2 separate regions of the Homo sapiens genome follow, and region 2 is linked to region 1. The links are contacts of gene promoters, found by promoter capture Hi-C in human tissues and cell types (Jung and others, 2019). All regions are on one chromosome and are shown on one strand. The core of a region is centred on a gene start or on the middle of the fragment in contact, and the rest is flanking DNA. Distances in the headings are between cores, read along the strand shown.

The links. The method cuts DNA at HindIII sites, captures the fragments that hold promoters and counts their contacts. A contact is called where the count stands out against the background at its distance.
Region 2: a contact is called between a fragment that was not itself captured here and the fragment with the promoter of GJC1 in region 1, in 2 of the 25 tissues and cell types used here (mesendoderm cells and spleen).

The regions. Positions count from the first base shown.
Region 1 is chr17:44,827,309-44,832,333 of GRCh38, forward strand. GJC1 (gap junction protein gamma 1) reads right to left here and starts at 2,979. Exons shown (of 3, transcript NM_005497.4): 1 at 2,754-2,979. RefSeq lists a silencer at 2,292-2,581 and enhancers at 2,637-3,610, 3,611-4,584. The HindIII fragment of the contact is 21,747 bases long and covers 1-5,025 here.
Region 2 is chr17:44,880,394-44,885,418 of GRCh38, forward strand. It overlaps EFTUD2 (elongation factor Tu GTP binding domain containing 2), which reads right to left. Exons shown (of 28, transcript NM_004247.4): 4 at 4,863-4,941; 5 at 3,256-3,331; 6 at 2,700-2,765; 7 at 1,294-1,329; 8 at 161-251. It also overlaps the pseudogene RN7SL405P. Among named protein-coding and RNA genes, the nearest start is that of EFTUD2, 17 kb to the right of the region's middle. The HindIII fragment of the contact is 7,445 bases long and covers 1-5,025 here.

The DNA.
Region 1 (5,025 bases), core at 1,729-4,228:
GGGCAATAAGAGCTAAACTCCGTCTCAAAAACAAACAAACAAAAAAAAAAAATTCCTGCTTTTTCTTTGCCTAAATTTTTATCAAATATTTTGAACAGAAGCCACATGTATTTCTACACTACAAGAAAAGCATAAGTTCAGAAATAAGTAATCATACCCCCTAGTCAAACTTAACTATAGGAAGGAAGGACAGGACAGGACAGGAAAGGAGGAGAAAAAAGAAATTAGCTGGGTATACTCAGGAGGCTGAGGCAGGAGGATGGCTTGAGCCCAGGAATTTGAGGCTGCAGTGTACTATGACAGCCTGGGCATCATAGCAATGTCTTTGAAAAAAAAAAGGATGGCCGGGCACGGTGGCTCACGCCTGTAATCCCAGCACTCTGGGAGGCCGAGGCGGGAGGATCACAAGGTCAGGAGATCGGGACCATCATGGCTAACATGGTGAAACCCCATCTCTGCTAAAACTACAAAAAAAAATTAGCCAGGCGTGGTGGCGGGTACCTGTAGTCCCAGCCACTGCACTCTAGCCTGGGCGACAGAGCAAGACTCCATCTCAAAAAAAAAAGGAAAAGGAAAAAGAAAAAAGAACACACCTCACCAATTTTGAAATGTGAACATACAACAAATAAAGCAATATTTTTTGGAACTCATCACTTTGCATTGAATTAGGCATGGAACAAACACTAAGCATTTGTTAAGAGAACGATGCTCTGGATTTAAATTATATATCCTGTATTCTAAGATCCTCATTACTCAATTGATAGGCAAGCCTGGACCTGGGGGGAAGTGGACTAATCAGAAACACAACCCTGCATTCCTTCCCTTTGGCTGACTTATACAAATATAAGAATAAAATTTAATTGACAAAGGATAACAGCATTTATAAGTAAGATTGTTATGCTGGAGATATGTTAATTAAGTCCTCTGGATTAAAGGCTAAAACTCAATTTTACCTGCATGAATTGATTACAGAGAAAATTACCAGGTCCTTTGCTCCTTTTTAAGAGAACTGTGGTAGAACTTTTTAAGAGAACTGTTTCTGGTAGAAAACAATTCTTAAGTCACACAACCTCAAAAGTTAAAAGTGCTGGCTTTTGAAGAGGTTGTTTGAAATGCTTTGGAAAAATGCACAACAGTTTAAGTAGTAAATAATATTAAGCCATTACAAATCAGGACAAATATTAACAGACCTTCCATACAACTTCTATGTATCTCTTCAATATGCCCTTTGCCTACAGCACTCTGGGCACAAAAATCTGGGGAAAACTAAGATCTGTTTATTGGAGCTTTTTACCTTCTACCCAGAAAAGTTAGTTCGTGTTTAATTCTGACATTACACAGTACTTAAGACATTCAAAGCAACTGCAGTGATACAACTCTATGCTAAGTTTTTTTTAAATCAGTAAACTTAACCCACAACTCACAATATTTTAATCAGGAGCTCTGGAAGTAAGGGTATTTTTCTGTTTTTTTCCATACCCTCTGAGGTTGAAATTTTTTTGCTCTTTTACTCTGAATAATACCTAAACCCTCTCTAGGGAGAGAAATATTTTATTCCTAAATGACATTATTAACGCATTTTTCTACAGATATTAAAGTACTGGAGATATGCTGTTTCCTGCTTATCAGGAAATTAAAATCCCTTTCATTTATGTAGTTTGATTTTTTATAGCGCTTTCACATATATTCACTTGAACGTATACACGACACAAACATATAACAAATTTAGACTTATCAGGCATACAAGATGACCCTCAGCCTGAACTTATTCAAACTTAACTTACTCGATTTCACATCGTCTTGATGCTAACAAAATTAAGCATGAGCATAATGAAATCGGTATCACTGCCAGTTCTCAATGAACAAAAAGAAAACCAAATTCGCCCATTTCGCAAAGGAAAAGTACTCCCAATCAGACAATCGCAAAAAAAAGAACAAAATCTAAACCATACATTCACGTACATCTTTTCAACTCAGAGCTCCAAACGCAGCCGCCAACCACACAACTGCCCACAATCACAGCGGTAGCGCCTACTCTTAATTTTGAAGCTAGAGACTTAAGGAAACACACACACACACAAAACAGTTCTCAAGTTTGACAAAGTGGGGGAAAAGTCATTTTAAGTAAAGACAACGAGTTAATCAGGAGGCGATGAGCCCAGTCCTTCCGCCCCGCTTTCCCGCTTCCAGCCCTCGAACGAACCCTCCTCTAACCCCCGGGAGGCAGGAGTTCCAGCGGGGAGATGCGGGAAGCCTCAGACGAGCCCGCACGCCGCCGGAGACGCAGGGATCGAGGTCGGGGAGACAAAGAGCAGCCCGCGAAGAGCCCGGGCGGCGAGGGGCGGCCCGGCTCCGCCCTGCGCCCCTAACCGCCCGGGTAGTTGTCGGCACCGCCGGGGCGCCGCCGAGTGCGCGCCGCTTCTGTCCGGGCTCCCCGACCGTCGCCCGACACCTCCGCGGCCCAGGACACCCCCGAGCCGTTTCCCTCCCGATTTGGGAGCCGCGCGCCTGGGGACAAAGAGGGAGGGTGCGCCGGGGACAGTGGCAGGACGCGGGCCGGCGACGCCCCTCCGGACTCGGCGGGAACCCCTCGGCGGCGCCCCCCTCCTTCTCCCGCTCTGGCCGCGCTCCTCCCCGGACCTCCGGAGGTTCTCCTCGGCCCCTCCCCGGGCTCCCCAAGAGTTCTCCCGCCTCCCCCTGGGACCCCGCCCCTGGCCCGCTTCTCCTCAGCCGGCCCTGCGGCCGCCCCTCACCCGGCGGCGGGTTCCCCCGGAGCCGCCTCCTCCGCCGGGCCTCGGCCCGTCCCGCCGGTCGCGGCCTCATGTGCCCCGCGTCGCCATCGCCTTCACCCTCGCCTCTCCTCCACCTCCTCCGCCGCTGCCGCCTTCGCCTCAGTCTCCAGCCGAGGCAGAAGCCGCTCCCGCCGCTGCCGCCGCCGCCGCCGCCTCCCGCTCCCGCCGCCGCGACCCGCGGGAAGGCGCCTGCGCACTGCGCGCTGCGGTGGGGGCGGGGGCGTCCCGCCGCGGCCCGGGAGCGGGGGGCGCGCGGCACGTGGCGCTCGAGTGGGAGGGGGGCGCCCCAGAACGCGCGGGAAGCGACGCGAGCGCCAACTTTCCGCGGTCGAGTCCTCGCCGCTCTCTCGGATAGTCCGGGACGCGGCGGAGGCGCGGCGCGCGTGGGAGTCACCCGCGTGGAGTCTGGACCCCGGGTGGGCGCAGACTTCGCTCCGGACAGTTCATTCTTCCAAGCTGATTTTCGGGCGAGAGTCCCCCGCCAGCCGCGCCTCAGTTTGAGCGGGCCGCTAACGGCGCCGTGGGTTCTCGCCTTACCTGGGTATCCTGGGTTGGTTTAGCGGGCCCAGAGTTGTCTTCTGCGCGCTCCGCCGAGGCCTTGGTCCATTGTAGCACGGGATGCTAATGTCTCCTCCCAGGTTCTGCTCTACAATTCCTCGAGGATCTGGCGGGCCCTGCGTGGATCTAGCTAGAGTCGGGGCTCTTAGCAGTGCTCTAGATACTTTTCAGGTCCTGAACTTCTCGGATTAGCAAGACCCTAATAGGCTATTTCCTCTTAACTCTTTGCATCCCAGCAGGATCCCATTCAGAGGACTTGGGAAAAATTTTCATGCATAGGAATCCCCAGTTTTAAAATGCCCAGTAGGAAACCGAAAATTCTCCAAATGCTTTAAGTAGAGTAAGACTTTGGGTAATAAAGGAAGGCTCAGTAAAGAGATGGGCGACCTCTGGAATGATCTCATCTGAGCATCAGAATGCCGATGGACAGGCTTTTATTATTTTGCCCTTTTGACCAGAGGGGAAATTAAGCGCTAACAAGTGAGGTTACTTGCTGCAAGTCAAACTCCCCCACCCAAAGCCAAGCCCTAAGGGGTAGCCCCAGAGTGGAAATCTTGAAGGCTAGGCATCTAATGCACTGACCAGTTTTGTGTGGCCAGTATGTTTTCCAAAAATATGAATTAGTTACCAAAATATTAAAATCCAGATTTCTGGCCTCCCTAAAAAGTCAAAAGCTGCTTACTTTGAGCTTCTCTTTTCACATGGCAGCTCCTCTTGAGTCACCTTGTCCGGGTAGGCAATGTCCCCACTCAGCTGCTTAAATCATTTCATGACCTGCTTGGCCTCGGAGCATTTAAGTACTTCTCCCTGTGATTGCTGTAGTCTGTCCCCACGCCTTATCACATTGCCTCTCTACAGATGTATTTAAAATGACAAGTGTGGGATGGGCGCGGTGGCTCACGCCTGTAATTCCAGCACTTTGGGAGGCCTAGGCAGGCGGATTGCTTGAGCCCTGGGGTTCCAGACCAGCCTGGACAATATGGCAAAACCCCCATCTCTACAAAAAATACAAAAATTAGCCGGGTGTGGTGACGCGCACCTGTGATCCTAGCTACTCCAAGCATGAGGTGGGAGGATCGCTTGAGCCCGGGAGGTCAAGGCTGCAGTAAGCTGAGATAGCGCCACTGCACTCCAGCCTGAGCGACAGAGTGAGACCCTGTCTCAAAAAAATAAGTGAAAAAAATAAAATGACCAGGGTGAAAACTCTGAAAATACCTGGAAATAATAAATAGCATGTAACTAAAATAACACAGGAAACAACATCATTGTACCTGTTGAATAAAATATTAAAATTCTCACAGCCTGCAACTGTAAACTAGTACAAATAACTTTTTTGTTTTGTTTTGTTTTGAGGGAGAGTCTCACTCTGTCGCCAGGCTGGAGTGCAGTGGGCGCCATCTAGGCTCACTGCAAGCTCCACCTCCCCGGTTCAAGCAATTCTCCTGCCTCAGCCTCCCGAGTAGCTGGGACTACAGGCGCACGCAACCACGCCCAACTAATTTTTGTATTTTTAGTAGAGACAGGGTTTCACCATGTTGGCCAGGATGGTCTCGATCTCCTGACCTTGTGATCCGCCTGCCTCGGCCTCCCAAAGTGCTGGGATTACAGGCATGAGCCACCGTGCCTGGCCTAAATCACTTTGTTGTTGTTTTTGCAACAGAGTCTCACTCTGTCG
Region 2 (5,025 bases), core at 1,365-3,864, 53 kb after region 1:
AGTCAGAAACAAAGGAGAGAGTCAAAATGGAAAATGGTTTCAATGAAGGTGAGGGAATGTAAAAACAAAGATGCACTGCTCCGTTCTGCTCCGAAAAGTGAGAGGACACACGCAAAACCAAGACAAGGTTCTAATAATCAAAAGCCAAAGGATGTCCTACCTGGAGTGTCCATGATATTGAAGAGATAAGATTTTCCTTTGGTGTCTGGCAAGACCACTGTCACAGGAGTGCTTTTGATGCCTACACCTCTCTGAAAGGAACAAAGAGTGGTCAAGACCTCTTCCTATGCAAGAGGGGTTCATTTTGTTTTTGGGGCTCCCCAGTTGCTAGTAAATTACACTGATGCCTCTCCTTATAGTGGGTGATTTTTATCTAGGCCTCTAGCCAGCATGACCTTGAAGATAAAATATCTTGGTGTTAGACACCATTTTTGGGGGACTTGTTTCAAATGTGAAAAGATGAAAATGAATTACTGCAAACAAAACAGTATTAAGCCTTATCAGAGAATCCAGGGTCCTAGAATCTCATCCTCTTTATACATTAGAAACAAAAACAATAGCTGAGCACCTTGAAAGTAAAAAGAAACAATCTGGGGTATTTTAGTTTTTTTTTAAAAAAGAAATATAAAAGCTATGACAGAAATAAACATTTTTTTTAAAACTCCAAACAAATACATAAATACATTATAAAATAATAACAGCTAACATTGATTGCCTATCTATCTTTACTAATTCCAAGTGCCTTTAGTTAACCATACTTATTATACTTAAAACTTCCATTAGGAAAAAGAGACAGAAATAAGAGGAGGGAAACAGAAGGGGTCAGAGATTAGAGAGAAAGATCCGGAAGGAAAGACAAAAAGAGAAACACAAAGATATAGGAACCCATTTTCAAAGAGAAGCTACTCCTAGAAAGAGGTCATCATATGGATGGACTCATCCTGCGGATTTTTAAAGGATGATGTCATTTTAAAAAAATCATGTTGAGCTTCTGCGTAACTTATAGCACAAATGCAGACATCGCCTCTTAGTACTTCTCCTATATTAGGCCAAATTTAATCTAGTCAAGAACAGGAGGGTTCCCCTCCTAACCTACAGCTTGCCTACCCAGTTCTTTTTCAAGTTATAACCCTGGAGTAACTGGGGGAAGAAGGAGATGGGATGTGAGAAGTGGAGAGAGAGGAGTAGGATATGAACTAAAATGCTATCATAAAGGCTCCTCTACATTCCCTACAAAACTATTACTGGTGGGTCTGGTGTAGGTGACAATCAGATTCCCCAAGGCATGCTTACCTCTTGCTCTGTGAAGAGGATGTCAGTATAGCACAGCTGAAAAAAAATTAACTGTTGTTACCACCTGAGTTGAGACTGCTCTCCCACAAACGAACCATCAATCACTTTCCCTCACTACCTCCCAGCTCAAGGGTTTCTTTGAGATTAAAGAGAGAGAGAGAGCAGGGTGTCCCCACAGCAATTACAGACAATGAGACCAGTGCCCTCCCAGCTGGAAATGCTCCTGGGTGTGTGGAGGGATTTTTTTATTTTTACTTTTTTGGAGACAGAGTTTTGCTCTTGTAGCCCAGGCTGGAGTGCAATGGCGCGATCTCAGCTTACTGCAACCTCCTTTGCCTCCAGGGTTTAAGAGATTCTCCTGCCTCAGCCTCCCAAGTAGCAGGGATTGCAGACGTGCGCCACCATGCTCAGCTAATTTTGTATTTTCGGTAGACACAGGGTTTCATCATGTTGGTCAGGCTGGTCTCGAACTCCTGACCTCATGTGATCCCCCCGGCTCAGCCTCCCAAAGTGCTGGGATTACAGGCGTGAGCCACCACACATGGCTGGGTTTTTCTTTTTGGTTGTGATTTTGTCTTTTTTTGAGATGGAGTCTCACTCAGTCGCCCAGACTAGAGTGTGGTGGCATAATCTTGGCTCACTGCAACCTCTACCACCCAGGTTCAAGCGATTCTCCTGCCTCAGCCCCTTGAGTAGCTGGGACTACAGGTGTGCACCACCGTGCCCACCCAGCTACATTTTGCATTTTTAGTAGAGATAGAGTTTCGCCATGTTGGCCAGGCTGGTCTCAAACTCCTGACCTCAAGTGATGCTCCTGTCCTGGCCTCCCAAAGTACTGGGATTATAGGCATGAGCCACCACTCTTTTTGAGTTGGGGGAGGTCACTAAAGACCAGGTATAGCTGAGAGATAATTTATATCAAATGCACAGAATTCTTAGTGTGGTAAAGGGAGACACATGTCAGCCTTAATGCTAAAGTGTTAAAACAATCAATCTGGCAGGGTTTGAACATTTATTGCACTGAGACTTGCAGACACAGTTGGCCTCATTCACAGGCATTTAAATTTACCATGAAAACCAGGTACAATTGTACCATATTTATAGAGCAGGCTATTAATACTATAACAGGAAAGAATAGACTATAAAAGTCAGGATATATCATAACAGAGGAGGGATCCCAAGTGCAAAATGGATCATCCAAAAATACTGCAGCTCAATATTCTCTATGCTCCCGAGAAAGTTGAAATTATTTTCTTACAGCCTATTAATAGAGATCACAATTATAAAGCTGCACTTTGGAGGCGTCATTATTTATAGAGAACAGGAAGGGTGAAGGAAGGAGGAGAGAGACATCTCTATCTGTTCTGAATGGTTCATCCTAAACCCTCAACAGAAGTTCTACTTACATCTTGGTCATAGCGCTTTCTGATTTCCGGGTGAGTCTGTTCAATTAAACAATCCACAAAACATGTCTAAAAGGGAAGAAACAGTTAACATCTGCCGACCACAGAGGAAAATTTACTGTGCCCTTCCCCCAGCTCCCAATACACCACATAATTTAGGGATAAGGAGAGAAAAAGGAGAGCAAGGAGGGTTATGGGACAGCAAATAATTAACACTGAAGCCACAGGATTATTTTCAAATAAAAGATGAAATCTTTCTTAGACAGGCATCCCTCAGGAAATGAAAACTTATAAAAATCAGAGTAAGGCTCAATTTCCCATCTTCTGTCCAGATGTAGACATAAGGCTCAGGCATGCAAGTGGCTTAGGAACAGGCTCCACCTGCTGCTTGGGAAAAGCCAGAATTTCACAGTATGACTTCGTAACAGGCATGCAGCACCCCTAGTCAGGAGGTTGAGCCTTGTGACCTCAAACCTCAACCGCTGTGACTCTAAGGGCTAAAACATGAGCAGGTACAAAAGAGAAATCCTGTTCCAAGTAGCTGAAAGTTCCGTCTTACCTTGCCATGGTGGAGATGTCCACAAAGGGTCACATTTCTGATGAGCTCTGAGTTATCCATCAGATCCGCCAAGAAACTGAAAGGACAAAGGAAAAGAGAAAAGAGAGATTGGCAAACGTTTCCAAATGAGGAGTGGTGTAAAGGTGTTTCAGGTATTTTTTGGCCAGGAACAACTTTCAGACCAACTGGAGAGTGCTCAGGCAGATGTGAATGTCTATACTTACATAGCTCTGGCTTTGGGAATGCAAGAAACTTATCCAAGAGGTAACACAATCTGTGAATGGACTATCACGGGGATTTCAATAGTAAAACAGCAAGACTAAAAAAGGAAGAAGAGGCTGGGCATGGTGGCTCATGCCTGTGATCCCAGCACTTTGGGAGGCCGAGGTGGGTGGATTACCTGAGGTCAGGAGTTCAAGACCAGCCTGGCCAACATGGTAAAACCCTGTCTCTACTAAAAATACAAAAATTAGGCCGGGAGCAGAGGCTCACGCCTGTAATCCCAACACTTTGGGAGGCCGAGGCCACCACGACCAGCTAATTTTTGCATTTTCAGCAGAGACGGGGTTTCACCATGTTGGTCAGGCAGGTCTCGAACTCCTGACCTCAGGTGATCCACCTGCCCTGGCCTCCCAAAGTGCTGGCATTACAAGCGTGAGCCACCACACCCAGCCAGGACTTCCAACATGGTGAAACCCCATCTCTACTAACAATATAAAAATTAGCTGAACGTGGTGACATGCGCCTGTAATCCCAGCTACTCAGGAGGCTGAGGCGGGAGAATCACTTGAACCTGGAAGGTGGAGGTTGTAGAGAGCTGAGATCATGCCACTGCACTCCAGCCTGGGCAACAGAGTGAGACCCCGCATCGAAAAAAAAAAAAAGAGAGAGAGAGAGCACCTAAATGATCCTACACATATATCTACCTCCTTTTGCTCTCCTTTTCAAAATAAAGAGTTGAGGGCCGGGCATGGTAGCTCACGCCTGTAATCTCAGCACTTTGGGAAACTAAGGCAGGAGAATCATTTGAGCCCAGGAGTTTGAGACCAGCTTGGGCAACATAGTGAAACAGTACAAAAAACACAAAAATTAGCCAGGCGTGGTGGTGTGTTCCTGTAGTTCCAGCTGCTCAGGAGGCTGAGGCAGACACATCTATTGAGCCTGGGAGGTCAAGGCTGCAATGAGCCATGATTGTGCCACTGCACTACAGCCTGAGCAACAAAACGAGACCTTGTCTCAAAATAACAACAACAAAAACAAAATAAAGAGCTAATATATTCCTAAAATACTCAGCAGTCTTATTGAGTCCAAACAGGCTCTGGTGGATCCAACAGTGATAACTGCAATACCCAGATCTCTCTTGAAGGCTGGCTTTCAACATCAAACTAAAGATCTGGAAGAGGAAACAGCTAACATTTGGATGAACACCAAGAGAAAAGTTAAGATTGACCCCAAATATCCCAGCAGCCACACAAGCTGAAGGAGAATTTGAGAGCTATGTACGGCCACAATTTACTAGCTATTTCAGCCAAAAGCCACCTCTTATCTCTACAAAAACATGAACCCACAGCATTCCTGCAGAGAAGCTGAGAAACCTTGTAACTTACTCCATCTCATACACCGTAACAGGTAATGTCTGCTCCATCAGAGTGAATTTCTTGGTTTTCACTGGCTTAATAATGGGTTCTAGAAGAAAAAAAAAAGGTAGTGATGTGTAGGTGGGCATAAAACATAAAAATACGGAACACTATTCCATTAGACTGACCTTTC